5 separate regions of the Homo sapiens genome follow, and regions 2, 3, 4 and 5 are each linked to region 1. The links are contacts of gene promoters, found by promoter capture Hi-C in blood cells and fetal thymus (Javierre and others, 2016). All regions are on one chromosome and are shown on one strand. Each heading gives the region's core, a stretch centred on a gene start or on the middle of the fragment in contact. The rest is flanking DNA. Distances are from core to core; before and after follow the strand shown. Region 1 holds the start of SLC25A3 (solute carrier family 25 member 3). Region 2 overlaps METAP2 (methionyl aminopeptidase 2). Region 3 overlaps USP44 (ubiquitin specific peptidase 44). Region 4 holds the start of USP44 (ubiquitin specific peptidase 44). Region 5 has its middle 18 kb from the start of USP44.

Region 1 (2,854 bases), core at 154-2,653:
GTAAAAGGCTTGCAAACAACTTCAAAGTTTATCCCAGCCACTAACCAATACTATCCCCACTTAAGAACTCCTGTAACATAAAAACGGATACGCACAAATTCCTGCAGTCAAATACATTTAATACACAAATAATGTTAGCTTTAACTTTTAAACTGAACGACAGATAGTGTAAATAAGGACTCTATCCATACTAAAGACAACAGAAGCACATGAATGATTTAAAGAAAAAAATCTTTCGATTTTACAGGCACAAGGTAGATAACATTCTTAGGACTCCTACAATTCGGTTTTCAGGTTTCTCTGTATGTACATACTTCACTAGGATTTAAAACACACACAACTAAGTTAAAGCTGGGCCCAACCACCAAGAATCCCAAGAGATAATCACACCAAAGGGACGCCCACCAATTATCTCCTTTCTATTGCCTATGTAGGGCTGCAAGCTGCCTCCTCCAGTCGCACGAAAACAGGACATCTAGTTATCTCATATACAATTAAGTGCAAAAATGACTGACCTGGCGTCGACAAATATAAAACTTAGGAAAGGACTATTTTTAAGAAAACTAAGGGCAAATCAAAGGACAGGTAATATAGTTAGTAGAACTGTGGGTGGTCAGTAGTTTCGGGAGGAGAGTTTACCCAGTACTTAGTTTGCTGACCAAGCGAGCTCACGGCGGAGAAAGAGCTAGTCACGGCCTCTCTTCCCTCGGGCACACGGAGGTCACGAAGGGACACAGGGCCTCAGCGCTTCCACGCCCTTGAGGGAAGGCCAAGGATCTGACACCCGCCTATGGTGGAAAAGGCCGATACCCCAGGGCAAGCAACTGGGCGCCGTCCTACGGTGCAGCGGGCTGGACTCGTCCTTCCCTGTCCTCCAAGCCGGGTCCAGGCCTCAAAGGCTGGGCGGCCCACAAGTAGACCACACGACTGTATTGGGCAGGGTCTGATCTCACCTTCCACGGCGGCGGCTGCCAGGTTGCGAGGGCGGCGGGGCTGGCCCGTGGGCCCTGGGGAGCTGCTGCGGAGGTCCCCGAGACCATCGTGCACCAGCTGCAGATGTGGCGTGTTGAAGGGGTTCGCCCGCGCCAGGTGCGCCACGGACGAGAACATCTTTCTAGGGGAGGAGGGAGCGACGGTTAGAGGACAGGCAAGGCGCCGGTTAACGTTACCGGCGCCCTGGAACCCCAACCGGGGCCTTTTCCTTCCCGTCTCCACGCCCTTGAAGAGGTCACGGCGGCCTTCGAAAGAGGCTGCTCCCGGCTGGGCCCACCGCCAAAGCAGCGGCCCCACAGGAGCTCTGGGCTCCGCTCCCCACACCCGCCACAGGAGAAGGCCCGGCCACACTCACTCCCTAAGATGGCGATCACACAACCACTCCCTTGGAAAGGTTGCGGCTCACAGAGGCCGGACGTCCTCCGGGTCCTAAGATGTGTGCCCTTCGCGCGTCGTCGGCGTGACGCACACAGCGCGCCACTGCAAGTACGCGTCGCCCATTGGTGGAGAAGAGCGCCGAGCCCGTAGCGTCATCGCGTTCTCCTAGCAACCTTATTCCCGCCCCTGCCCGCCCCAGCTCTTCCGCCCGGCTTGTGCGCGGGAGGATTCGTTCTGCGCAGGCGCGCGTTCCGGGTCTATATTTTTTGAGAGGGGTCGGGCTCGAGCTCTTACCCTGCTCGCTTTGTCCCTTCACCTTCAGGTGTCTCTCCTTGACCACGGGCTTCAGTTCGCTTCACTTAAGTGAATCACAGTATCTAGTAGTCACTTAAAAAACAAAACAAAACGCGAATGCTTGATAATATATTTAGGTGTTGGAGTTACAACATCACTGCAGTACTTTGTGTCACAACTTCTGCCATTACAGTACTTTTTAAAATAAGTTCCATCCATTGACATTAAACATAGGTATGTCTGTATTTTTCATCAGACTCCTGGAGAATATTTTAAAAAGAAATGTGCAGCAAGAAGTCTTACGACAGCTTGCCGCGTTATCACAGTAATCTACAGAACACGTTGAAACATTGAACTCCTGAGATGTTACAGCGATGAACTACTGAAAGTGACTGATAGCAGATTGTGCGTGTGTGTGGTTAATACATTTAGGAAGCTTTCATTAGATTCAGCTCAACAGGGAGGGGCGTAGTTTAGTTGGGGAGAGTTTAATAGGGATTCAACCTGTTAGACTTCTGACTCTTATATTTTCCAAGCTCTTGACAAAGTAACCTTGGGAATTTACTTCATCTCTGTGTACCTGTTCCCTAGATGTAAGATAGGGGTGGGACTGGCCTCATAGGTTCACACTGGTACAGTCACACATGGCCTTACACTTCATTTAATGCTCTGCTGTCATTTTGATTTTTTTTTTTTTTCTTTTGAGATGGAGTCTTGCTCTGTCGCCCAGGCTGGAGTGCAGTGGGGCGATCTCAGCTCACCGCAACCTCCGCCTCCCGGGTTCAAGCGATTCTCCTGTCTCAGCCCCCGGAGTAGCTGGGACTACAGGCGTGCACAACCACGCCCGGCTAAGTTTTCTATTTTTAGTAGAGACAGAGTTTCGTCACGTTGGCCAGTCTGGTCTCGAACTCCTGAGCTCAGGTGATCCGCCCACCTCGGCCTCCCAATGTGCTGGGATTACAGGCCTGAGCCACCATGCCCGGCTTGAAATTCTTAATACATGTATGAACAAGGGGCCACGCTTTTTTTAGTTTGCACTGGACCCTGCAAATCAGGTGTCTGGTTCTGGATGGGAGTAATACTTACCTTGCAGAGTCTATGAGAACTCAATGAGATAATGTCTAAAAGTCTACAGAAGATGTTACCTAAAAAAAGTTAGCATTGGCCGGGCGAGGTGGCTCACGCCTGT
Region 2 (2,854 bases), core at 125-2,624, 3.1 Mb after region 1:
TTTTCTTATTGTTGGGCTACAGAACTCTACATTCATGAATATACTATTTTGTATGTATGCCACATTTTTTAGAAATGCTGTTAACTCAGAAGAGATGCTAATTAGCCACATAAAATCAATCGTCTCGTCTCTCACCTTATTGGCACATGTCCAACATCAAAATTTTTCATGTAATGTGAACATTCCATATCATCATGAACAACACCTTTTCCTGTACTACCAAAGGTTTCAATTGCATATACTTCTCCTTCCTGAAAAATAAATAAGGGTCAAGGGGAGAGAAAGAAGAAAAATTCAGAACGAATCACAATTACCATCTCTCTTTCTCTCTCTCTCTTTTTGAGACAGAGTCTCTCTCTGCTGCCAGGCTGGAGTGCAGTGGTGAGATCTTGGCTCACTGCAACCTCCACTTTCCAGGTTCAAGCGATTCTCCTGCCTCAGCCTCCCGAGTAGGTGGGACTACAGGCACGTGCCACCATGCCTGGCTAATTTTTGTATTTTTAGTAGATACAAGGTTCCACCATGTTGGCCAGGATGGTCTCAAACTCCTGACCTCACTCAGGTGATCTGCCTGCCTTGGTGTCTCAAAGTGCTGGGATTAACAGGCCTGAGCTACCGAGCCTGGCCTACAATTACCATCTCTTGAAGTCTCTACCTGATTAAGCAGCAACATGAAATAGCCCCTGGCGGTCCTTATCTAGCCTTGCCCTGCTTTATCTCCTTAGCACTTTTTGGTCTTTCTGCTTCCCCCTATGAATTATGTTCACAGCTCTACCCCTAGAGCCTACTATAAAGAGACTGGCACCTGAGAATGCTCAATAAATATTCATTAAATGTTGAATAAACAACCCTTTCACAGCCCCAATTTCCACAACTGATTTAGTGCTGACTATACACAATTTGCAAATTCAAATGGCCCAATTCCTGGCAGGGTGAATATGGATGATAAGCAGCTAATTCTGGTCAGTATAACCATATATTTAACTACCATGACCTTCTGCTTGGAAGAAAAAAATGTCTTCCATGGAAGTAAAATGTTAGTGACACACATACCTCCATTCTTGTTGCCTCCCCTCCTTTCACAATCGGCACTGTTTTTCCAGCATGTATTCTATATTGCCCAATTGAATGTCCATTTAGATTACGGATTGGTTTCACTGTTATAAAAAATAGGGAAATAAAAGTCATTCAGGATCTCAAGAAGCAAAAACAGATCTCTTACATTTTGGTACAGAGTTCAAGCATTTATTCAAAAACCAGGTATGGCTTTACTAAATAACCTTACATTAAGGTAGTTTAATATAAACTGGAATCTAGTGGAATATAAAAAGTAGTTGCAGTGTTATTAATACTAGAAGTAGGCCAGGTGCAGTGGCTCATGCCTGTAATCCCAGCACTCTGGGAGGCCGAGGCAAGCGGATCACCTGAGGTCAGGAGTTCGAGACCAGCCTGACCAACATGGCGAAACCCTGTCTCTACTACAAATACAAAAATTCGCTGGGTGTGGTGGTGGGGGCCTGTAATTCCAGCTACTCAGGAGGCTGAGGCAGGAGAATCACTTGAACCCGGGAAGCGGAGGTTGCCGTGAGCCAAGATCACATCACTGCACTTCAGCCTGGGCGAAAGCAACTCCGTCTCAAAAAAAAAAAAAAAAAAAAAAAACGGTGCTAGAAGGGAGGATGGAAGAAAGAAATACAGGATTAAGGGCACAAGGGAGGTCATCTAAGGAGGTATAAGGAGGTACTGTTAACAACAAATAAAATGCCATGTACACAAATTATTAGAAACATAAAAAATACATATTTGTATTGTTACAGACCAAAAGATAATGTGAAAGATACTGTTAATATGACAGTATTATAAAACTTTATATCAACATTTCAAATGTTCAAAAAGAAAACCTATGTGGCTGAGACACAGTAATTAAGAAATAGAAGTAAGAAAGAAGAAAGAAAATCTAAACATCCCACTGTCATGACAGCAAGGACAGAATAGACAAATTGTGGCATATTCACGAGGGAATAACATTCAACAATCAAAACAAAAAGCTAGGAATACATTTAACAACTGGAATAAAACGTCTAGCTTTTTTATTCCAGTTGTTTTAAAACTGACAAAATGAGCAGAAAAAGGCACAATTACATATATACTGTACAATTCCACATATATATAATAGTTCAAAATTAGGCAATAAAACTAGTTTAGGGATGCATAATTAGGTAGTAAAGACATAAAGAAAAGCAAATGAAAATCCTTTCATACTTGCAGTGCTGATAAGCTAAATATATTTTAAAATTCAGACATCATTACTATTTCTCTAAGACCTGGCAAACTGACCCCACAAGCCAAGATGGTGGCTCACTAGAGGCAGGCTGCTGTAATTGGAAAGCAGTGTATTGCTGCTATGGTTTGAATGTATCCCCCAAAGGTCATGTATTGGGAATTTCATCCCCAGTGTGATGGTGTTGGGAGGTGGGACCTAACAGGAGGAGTTTGGGCCATGGAGGCACCACTCTCATCAATGAATTCAAGCCATTATCTCAGGAGTGGGTTCCCTGTAAAGGACAAGTTTGACCATTTCTTGCTCTCTCTCTCAAACTTCTCATTGCCCTTCTGCCTAATGCCATAGGATGATGCAGCAAGAAGACCTTCACCAGATGCCAGTCCCTCAATCTTCCCAGCCTCCAACACTGTGAGAAATCAATTTCTGTTCTTTATAAATTACCTAGTCTCAGGTATTCTGCTGTAGCAGCACAAAACGGACTAAGAAAATGAGACTGAGCGTCTTCTGGAATACTGGCAATATTCAATTTCTTGAGGAGTGAGGTTACGTAGCTTCTGCAATTGAGAAGCT
Region 3 (2,854 bases), core at 143-2,642, 3.1 Mb after region 1:
AATTTAATGCCTTGGTCATGATACATAGGGTGTTTTTAGTGTTCCGTAACTAGGTCTCCACCCAAACCCTGAAATTTGTCTTTGATTTGTATTAAATCAATGAAAAAAGTGTTTGTGATCACGGCTTTTTAAATAAGATTTCTGTTCATTACATGTAAATAACTTACAGCAGAAGTGTTCCTGACTTTAACTGATAAAGGAACAAGTTCTGTGTCAAAAATCACATAAGCTTTTTTAAAAAAATAAGCTTATAATTTCAGATAGGTTTAGGCCTGCTAGAATGTAATAAAAGCTTATTGCCACCCACTTCATATTCTTCCTTTTTTTCTCTTTATTTCCTTGTATGTTTCTGAGAATATTCAAATACAAAAGCACATTCTCCTCTTCTGTCTTTCTCTTTCCCTAAAGCCAACTGTCAAGTCTGTTCGGCCTCAGAGTATGTTATAGAGCCATGAATTAAAGGTAATTATTGATTTACCAAATGGAAAAAAATAAGTTTAATGGTAATATGATTTATTTAAATAGGGTAATAAGATTCGTTCACTATAGATACAATTAAAACTACCATTTACCATGTGTCAGATAAATATTATCTCTCAGTTCTTCAACAACTCAATTGAAGTTGGTATGATTTTCCCTCTTTTACAGATGGTTTAGAGAAGTTAAAACATTTGCTCAAAATCATACATTTAACAGTGTGTGGCAAAGGTACAATTCAAACCTATGTTTTTCTGCCTTAAAACTCACCTTTTCATCTTTGATTATGTTTTATTAACTCCACATAAGGCTCATAATGTTTATAAATATTAGTGAGATATATTTGGGTCTTGCCAACCCCTGTCATTAAGAAAAGGGGCCAGGCACAGTGGTTCACGCCTGTAATCCCAGCACTTTGGGAGGCCAAGGCGGGTAGATGACCCGAGCTCAGGAGTTCAAGACCAGCCTGGGCAACATGACGAAACCTTGTCTCTAGTAAAAATACGAAAAACAGATTAGCTGAATGTGGTGGTGCACTCCTATAATCCCAGCTACCCGGGAGGCTGAGGCACAGCAATCACGTGAGCCCAGGAGGCAGGGGTTGCAGTGAGCTGAGATCGCACCACTGCACTCCAGCCTGGGCCACAGAGCAAGACTCTGTCTCAAAAAAAAAAAAAAAAGGGAATGCAGTTTTGGAAACTGCCCTCAGACTACTGGGTAAAAAAGGATAGATCTTAAGCTATTTCAGTGGAAAGTGATTACTACCCATTTTTCACCACTAGATGGTGGCAGAAAGTTAAAAACAAAAGCTAAAGGCGCCTCATTAGAGAAAGTGAAGTGTCTGTGCTTTCAGAGCAAGGTGGATGTGAGGTTAGGGAAGTTTAGAGAAAGGGAAATGGGAGAACTGCCAATGGTATTATGATAAGCAGCCTAGAAATTGGGAGCAGAGGACACAAATCTTTATTATTCTTGGGAAAAAATATGAAAAATATTAGCATCTTGTTATTAACACTTGACATTGTTCTGTTTAGTTTTCAGATGCTTCAAGTGTTGTGAACAGAGACTTGTTTGGATTATGCATTTCTCAGCTAGACTAAATAAATGCTAGCAATGGATACGTGCAAACATGTTGGGCAGCTGCAGCTTGCTCAAGACCATTCCAGCCTCAACCCTCAGAAATGGCACTGTGTGGACTGCAACACGACCGAGTCCATTTGGGCTTGCCTTAGCTGCTCCCATGTTGCCTGTGGAAGATATATTGAAGAGCATGCACTCAAGCACTTTCAAGAAAGCAGTCATCCTGTTGCATTGGAGGTGAATGAGATGTACGTTTTTTGTTACCTTTGTGATGATTATGTTCTGAATGATAACACAACTGGAGACCTGAAGTTACTACGACGTACATTAAGTGCCATCAAAAGTCAAAATTATCACTGCACAACTCGTAGTGGGAGGTTTTTACGGTCCATGGGTACAGGTGATGATTCTTATTTCTTACATGACGGTGCCCAATCTCTGCTTCAAAGTGAAGATCAACTGTATACTGCTCTTTGGCACAGGAGAAGGATACTAATGGGTAAAATCTTTCGAACATGGTTTGAACAATCACCCATTGGAAGAAAAAAGCAAGAAGAACCATTTCAGGAAAAAATAGTAGTAAAAAGAGAAGTAAAGAAAAGACGGCAGGAATTGGAGTATCAAGTTAAAGCAGAATTGGAAAGTATGCCTCCAAGAAAGAGTTTACGTTTACAAGGGCTCGCTCAGTCGACCATAATAGAAATAGTTTCTGTTCAGGTGCCAGCACAAACGCCAGCATCACCAGCAAAAGATAAAGTACTCTCTACCTCAGAAAATGAAATATCTCAAAAAGTCAGTGACTCCTCAGTTAAACGAAGGCCAATAGTAACTCCTGGTGTAACAGGATTGAGAAATTTGGGAAATACTTGCTATATGAATTCTGTTCTTCAGGTGTTGAGTCATTTACTTATTTTTCGACAATGTTTTTTAAAGCTTGATCTGAACCAATGGCTGGCTATGACTGCTAGCGAGAAGACAAGATCTTGTAAGCATCCACCAGTCACAGATACAGTAGTATATCAAATGAATGAATGTCAGGAAAAAGATACAGGTTTTGTTTGCTCCAGACAATCAAGTCTGTCATCAGGACTAAGTGGTGGAGCATCAAAAGGTAGAAAGATGGAACTTATTCAGCCAAAGGAGCCAACTTCACAGTACATTTCTCTTTGTCATGAATTGCATACTTTGTTCCAAGTCATGTGGTCTGGAAAGTGGGCGTTGGTCTCACCATTTGCTATGCTACACTCAGTGTGGAGACTCATTCCTGCCTTTCGTGGTTACGCCCAACAAGACGCTCAGG
Region 4 (2,854 bases), core at 236-2,735, 3.0 Mb after region 1:
AATACAAAAATTAACCAGGCGTGGTGGTGCATACCTGTAATCCCAGGTACTCAGGAGGCTGAGGCAGGGGAACTGCTTGAACCCGGGAGGCGGAGGTTGCAGTGAGCCGAGATCACGCCACGGCACTCCAACCTGGGTGACAGAGCGAGACTCTGTCTCAAAAAAAAAAAAAAAAAGAAAAGAAAAGAAAAGAAAAACTGAGTATAGGGTGGAGGTGGAGTGGATGTTTATGTTTAAAAAGGGGGAGAAATGGACTCACTTCACAATTTTGCTTCCATTTATACCTAAACCCTGGGGCTCAGGGTTTCAGTTTCCAGTAGGCCTATGTTGGAAATTCACCTGCAAGGTACAAGTTTCCCTGACAGACCACCAAATAAACAATGGTCTTTTAAAAACAAATCAACTTTGGTACCATCTACTCAGCTGGCATTTACCTTCCTTACCTGCTACCAACCTCATTCTTAGAATTAAAGAAAAAAGGCGAATTCTAAAGCCCCTTCTACTCACTTTCCTCCACTAAGGCCATAGCTTACATCTGCTGCTCTTTTTTCCATACTCCTTTTTTCTCAACTCCTTTCTTTCATATTTGCCAGAAATTTAAGGTCGTTTGGGTTCCTCTCATTTAAAAAGTTCAACTGAAGTGTGTTGCTACACCTTAATCAAAAGTTTATGGCTGAGTTATTTAGCGTTTCTTTACCCACTTCCTCTGCTCAATCCTTCATCTCCTCATAACCATTGAAATGAATGCTATGAATATCTCAATGCTTAGCATGGTGCCAGGCATTTAGGTGTTGAAAAAAATGTTAAGCGAATATTAGTTATTAGGTAAGAGCATTGTCTGTAAAACTCTGAAAAGTCTTAAAAGTGATTCCTAAAATTTCACAAGCTCATAAATTCTTTAGTCTGCAATTATGATTCCTGAAATATTCTTCGATTCATGAAAGACTGGACTAGGAAATTCTAAAAATCGACATAAAGCATAAAAAGCCACTCTGAGGTTTATGAAATTTACAATGTTTTGTCTTCTTTTAATTCATTCGTACTTTTCTCTCAGGATACAAAGGGCAAAACTGTTTGTGTAGTAACTCAGAATTGAGTAGTTACACATCCATTAGGTTTCAGAATCGTTAAAATTTTATCTGGTTTAGGAAACTGCTTACCTTGGAAGGGCAAATTGCCATTTCTCTCCATCTGGGGATCAGGGAAGCAAGGGAAGCCCCCCTAAACATCACTTCCACGCTCCTATATTATGCTAAGGAACTTCTGGTTGATTCATTAGGCATTTCAGCAGTGTTTTTGGCCGGTACTAGGAACTGTGGAGAGGTATAGAAAGGGAGCAAGTGCACAGTCCCGGCCCCCAAAGAGGTTACGATGCAAATAGAAGCAGGCTCAGAACTCGGAACAAAAGCAGTGACTGCATAATAATGCACTGCTGGGGGTGGGGGATGGGGATCTGCACGCCCGGTTTGTGACTTCAGGAAAGCAGTTTCCAGGAGGTGAGAGTTTAAGCCAAACCTGAAAGAGGTTGATTTGTAATGATTTGCAGGGGGGCACTGGAGGCAGCCGCCAGGACTTTTCACTTAGGAGATCAGCATTTGCCCTGATGGAAACTGGGCGATCCTGCAGGGACTGACCTCTGAGTTATCCAAAGGCCGACCTGGGGAAAGACTGATTTTGAGGTTTTAATAGGTAAGTTTGGGGACATCATTGATGAAGGTGGGCAGGGAAGGAGGCTTTTTTCTTTTCTTTTTTTTAATGTTACAGTAAAAAGCTTAGATTCGATGAGACGGGTTAAAAAACAAATAGGAAAATTTAAGGAGAAGAATGACTATGATTGCTATGTAAAAATAAAATTGCAATAGAGAGGTTCTGGAGCTCAGGAAATGAGCTAGAGCATGCTATAATTTAGGCCTAGATAGTGAAGATCATGAATAAAATGGTAGCTGAGGAAATTTCAAAGTTGAATAAGTAGTAATAAGTATGAAGAAAAAGCTAAACTACAAACATCTGCTCTTTAATTACTAACACTAGTAATGAGAATTTGTCTCCAGCCTCTTCCCTTCCCACTCCGCACCTCTTCCTAGCTTACATCATTGTATTAAGGCATTTTATTGAAGACACTATTCAGCACTCTCCACCTATGCCTTACACAGCTTGCCTTTGCTTTTCTTCCCATTTCACTTTTTCTCTTCATTTATTCACATCATTTTAGTCCTTAAAAGACCCCGCCCAATTACTAGATCAGAGGGAGGCAACTAAGACTCTTCCTATCTCCCAAACGACCTTCCAGAATGGTTTTATGGCATTATAATAGGAAAGCAAGAGTTTTGATTTTTCTATTATTAATATTTTGCTTTCAAGGAATTACAGGAAAAACCATATTGCATGCCAGAAATACTTAAATTTTAAATATTTCATCTTAAGAGATGCCCTCATGTAATGCTTTTAATGCATTTGAGAAATTCAGGTGGTGGGCAAAAGTACAACATAGAGGTTAGATGTTTTGAGTGGGAGAAGTGCACTGGGGTCATTATTGAATCAGAATTATTATGCACTTAAATATATAGAAAAAAGAACAAAATGAGTATTAAACTATGCAAATTCATCCCTTTAATCTTTATTTGCATGACTACATTTTATGCAGTTGTAACCTTAATGTACATATTTGGTATTTTTTTCAAACATGAATTGATTAGACATTGTTGCTATTTTGTATCTATTTTGTTAACATAAGAACTTCCTGTGTTATATCAGATTTTTTTTTTTTTTTTTTTTTTCTGAGACGGAGTTTCGCTCTTGTTGCTGCCCAGGCTTGAGTGCAATTGTGGATCTAGGCTCACCACAACCTCCGCCT
Region 5 (2,854 bases), core at 245-2,744, 3.0 Mb after region 1:
CAGCTACTCAGGAGGCTGAGGCAGGAGAATTGCTTGAACCCGGGAGGCAGAGATTGCAGTGAGCCGAGATCGCGCCACTGCACTCCAGCCTGGGCGACAGAGCGAGACTCGTCTCAAAAAACAAAACAAAACAAAACAAAACAAAACAAAAAACCCATTATTTTCACAAGTAGATACATTGGGGGGTGAGAAGTTGTAATAACTATTCCACAAAAAAGTCACTTTCATGCCATCTATAAGGTAAACTATAAAAGAACAATGGCTGGTCATGAGAAGACTTGCTTTCTAATTCCAGATCTGATGCTTGCTGTGTGGCTTCAGACAAGTCACTTAATACTATAATTTCCTCAGCTATATAATGCTAAGTATGAAGAAAGAGGATCTGTATGAAAATCCTTTGCGAGGTAGAAATTGCTCTGCAATGAAAAACATCATTACTAATGCATAATTCTTCTTTTCCTCATTCCATTTATATTGGAATAATGCCATTAATATATCTTTGGGATAACTCATATTTCTCTCTTCCCTCCATTGATTTATTCATGAAATGACTGAAGGCATTTTGGTAGATAAAGAAAAGACAAGTGACAATAACCTGTTACAGGATTAAAGCCAAATGGCTGTGTAAAAAAGGGTACATTAAATGATCAAATCAAAGACTATACATTTGCTATTTGTAAGACAAATACTGCATCTTTATGGGTTTTCAGATCCATCAGTTAAATAACAAAGTAGTGGTATAACATACTCAAGAGGTTTAATATAACATTAAATGAAGGCTGACAACCATGAAAACCATTTATCATTGTATTTAAACCACTAATTTCAGATTAAATTTAAAACACTTAATTCCTAATTGTTAGCACTGACATGCCAACAAAAATCTTAAGGAAATATTTTGTAGCTAGATCACACCATTGTTACACATTTGCTTGAGAAAACAAAGTATGTATGTAATTAAAGTATGTAACTAAATCCTACCTTATCATTATGGTGCCTTCAATAAGATCCACTCTGCCAAAAATTGAACAATTTATAATACATAGTTTAATTGGAAATTTTTATTGTCATCTGTCAAATTCTGAGACTATACTTTTTGATGTAGTGTATGTGGTTAGAGCATTCTCTGAATAAATCCAAGGTTGCATGGCCATTCTTACAGGAGCCACTTAACTTGAAAAGGGAGAAAAAAAAATCAGTGGCATATCACAACTTGCTATCTAGCCACCTTCTCTGATTTTGGTGAAAGTGATTCAAAGGTGACCAGGTAATTGTAAATGGACAGCCTGGGTAGAAAAATTACTTGAAATGACATCTTTCCAAATGTACAGTACTTCCCAAAACTACAGATAAATGGAATAAAACAAAGTCTAGTTAATCTAAATATAAACAACATAGTATGCTGTGATCCAGTTAGAAAAAACTTTTTCTTCTTTTCCGTTGCAAAATCTAACATTTCCCAGAGCAGATCCTGTTCTGGTGTGTGAATTTGAACCCGTTGATTAAATTTTGAGCATGTTTCCTCAACTGTAAAATGGGGATAATAATACCGATCTCCTCAGGGTTGCTGTGGAAATTACAGTAAGCAGTGAAGGAAAGATGACTACTAAGTAAAAGGAGTAACAATTACAGTAGGAGCAGCAGCAGCCACAGTTCTCATTCTGTCCGGATGCATCCAGGATGATGTATGGTCTGACAGTGAAAATGAAGAGAATGTTTCAAGAAAAGAAGCACGATCAGCGTTGGCAAATAGTGAAGTAAAATCAGTGGCTTTTGAATTTGACAAGAAAGGAATTGTTGGTAGCTTTGTTTCAAGAGAACATTTCCAAAGCAGTAAGAGGGGAAGCCTCAGTGTAGGCAGCTAAGGAAGAAGCAAACATAAAGAAAATGGAGGCAGTGGCCGGGCGCGGTGGCTCACGCCTGTAATCCCAGCACTTTGGGAGGCCGAGGCCGGCGCATCACGAGGTCAGGAGATCGAGACCATCCTGGCTAACATGGTGAAACCTGGTCTCTACTAAAAATACAAAAAATTAGCCAGGCAAGGTGGCGGGCGCCTGTAGTCCCAGCTACTCAGGAGGCTGAGGCAGGAGAATGGCGTGAACCCGGGAGGCGGAGCTTGCAGTGAGCCGAGAGCCGAGATTGCGCCACTGCACTCCAGCCTGGGTGACCGAGCGAGACTACGTCTCAAAAAAAAAAAAAAAAAAAAAAAAAAAAAGACAGAAAAGAAAGAAAAGAAAAAGAAAACAAAATGGAGGCAGCAGGTATAAACCGGAGGTTTTCAACATTTTGTATTCACCAATAACTATTATAGAGTCATGATTTTAAAATATCAGAGAAAGGCTGGGCGCGGTGGCTCATGCCTGTAATCCCAGCACTTTGGGAAGCCGAGGCGGGCAGATCACTTGAGGTCAGGAGTTGGAGACCAGCCTGGCCAACATGGTGAAACCCTGTCTCTACCAAAAATACAAAAAAAAAAAAAAAAAAGAGAGAGAGAGAGAGCCGGATGTGGTGGCGCACTCCTGCAGTCCCAGCTACTTGGAAAGCTGAGGCGGGAGAATCAGTCAAACCCAGGAGGTGGAGGCTGCAGTGAGCTGAGATTGCACCACTGCGCTCTAGCCTGGGTGACAGAGTGAGATTCTGTCTCATAAAAAAAAAAAGAAGAAGAAGAAGAGAGAGAGAGAGAGAGAAATGTATGTTTCTGAACTTTTTTTGTTTTTTGTTTTTTTTGAGACGGAGTCACGCTCTGTCGCCCAGGCTTGAGTGCAGTGGTGTGACCTCGGCTCACTGCAAGCTCTGCCTCCCAGGTTCACGCATTCTCCTGCCTCAGCCTCCCGAGTAGCTGGGACCACAGGCG

Evidence for each region. Contacts are between HindIII fragments. The CHiCAGO score rates a contact against its expected background, and 5 or more counts as called.
Region 2: a contact is called between a fragment that was not itself captured here and the fragment with the promoter of SLC25A3 in region 1, in 1 of 17 cell types (total CD4 T cells). The highest score is 6.1, in total CD4 T cells.
Region 3: a contact is called between a fragment that was not itself captured here and the fragment with the promoter of SLC25A3 in region 1, in 1 of 17 cell types (non-activated CD4 T cells). The highest score is 6.2, in non-activated CD4 T cells.
Region 4: the fragment with the promoter of USP44 here is called in contact with the fragment with the promoter of SLC25A3 in region 1 in 4 of 17 cell types (non-activated CD4 T cells, activated CD4 T cells, naive CD8 T cells and 1 more); the score reaches 8.6 in non-activated CD4 T cells.
Region 5: a contact is called between a fragment that was not itself captured here and the fragment with the promoter of SLC25A3 in region 1, in 1 of 17 cell types (total CD4 T cells). The highest score is 6.6, in total CD4 T cells.

The regions. Positions count from the first base shown.
Region 1 is chr12:98,592,235-98,595,088 of GRCh38, reverse strand. It overlaps SLC25A3 (solute carrier family 25 member 3), which reads right to left and starts at 1,403. Exons shown (of 8, transcript NM_002635.4): 1 at 1,349-1,403; 2 at 954-1,114. The coding sequence starts at 1,110. RefSeq lists enhancers at 364-988, 1,312-1,411, 989-1,613, 1,662-1,881. The HindIII fragment of the contact is 3,126 bases long and covers 1-2,103 here.
Region 2 is chr12:95,510,198-95,513,051 of GRCh38, reverse strand. It overlaps METAP2 (methionyl aminopeptidase 2), which reads right to left. Exons shown (of 11, transcript NM_006838.4): 9 at 1,054-1,157; 10 at 136-251. Among named protein-coding and RNA genes, the nearest start is that of METAP2, 37 kb to the right of the region's middle. The HindIII fragment of the contact is 4,818 bases long and covers 1-2,854 here.
Region 3 is chr12:95,532,981-95,535,834 of GRCh38, reverse strand. USP44 (ubiquitin specific peptidase 44) reads left to right here. Exons shown (of 6, transcript NM_032147.5): 2 at 1,509-2,854. The coding sequence starts at 1,579. Among named protein-coding and RNA genes, the nearest start is that of USP44, 17 kb to the left of the region's middle. The HindIII fragment of the contact is 2,195 bases long and covers 295-2,489 here.
Region 4 is chr12:95,550,107-95,552,960 of GRCh38, reverse strand. It overlaps USP44 (ubiquitin specific peptidase 44), which reads left to right and starts at 1,485. Exons shown (of 6, transcript NM_032147.5): 1 at 1,485-1,689. The HindIII fragment of the contact is 4,508 bases long and covers 1-1,773 here.
Region 5 is chr12:95,567,976-95,570,829 of GRCh38, reverse strand. No RefSeq gene overlaps it. Among named protein-coding and RNA genes, the nearest start is that of USP44, 18 kb to the right of the region's middle. The HindIII fragment of the contact is 4,783 bases long and covers 1-2,854 here.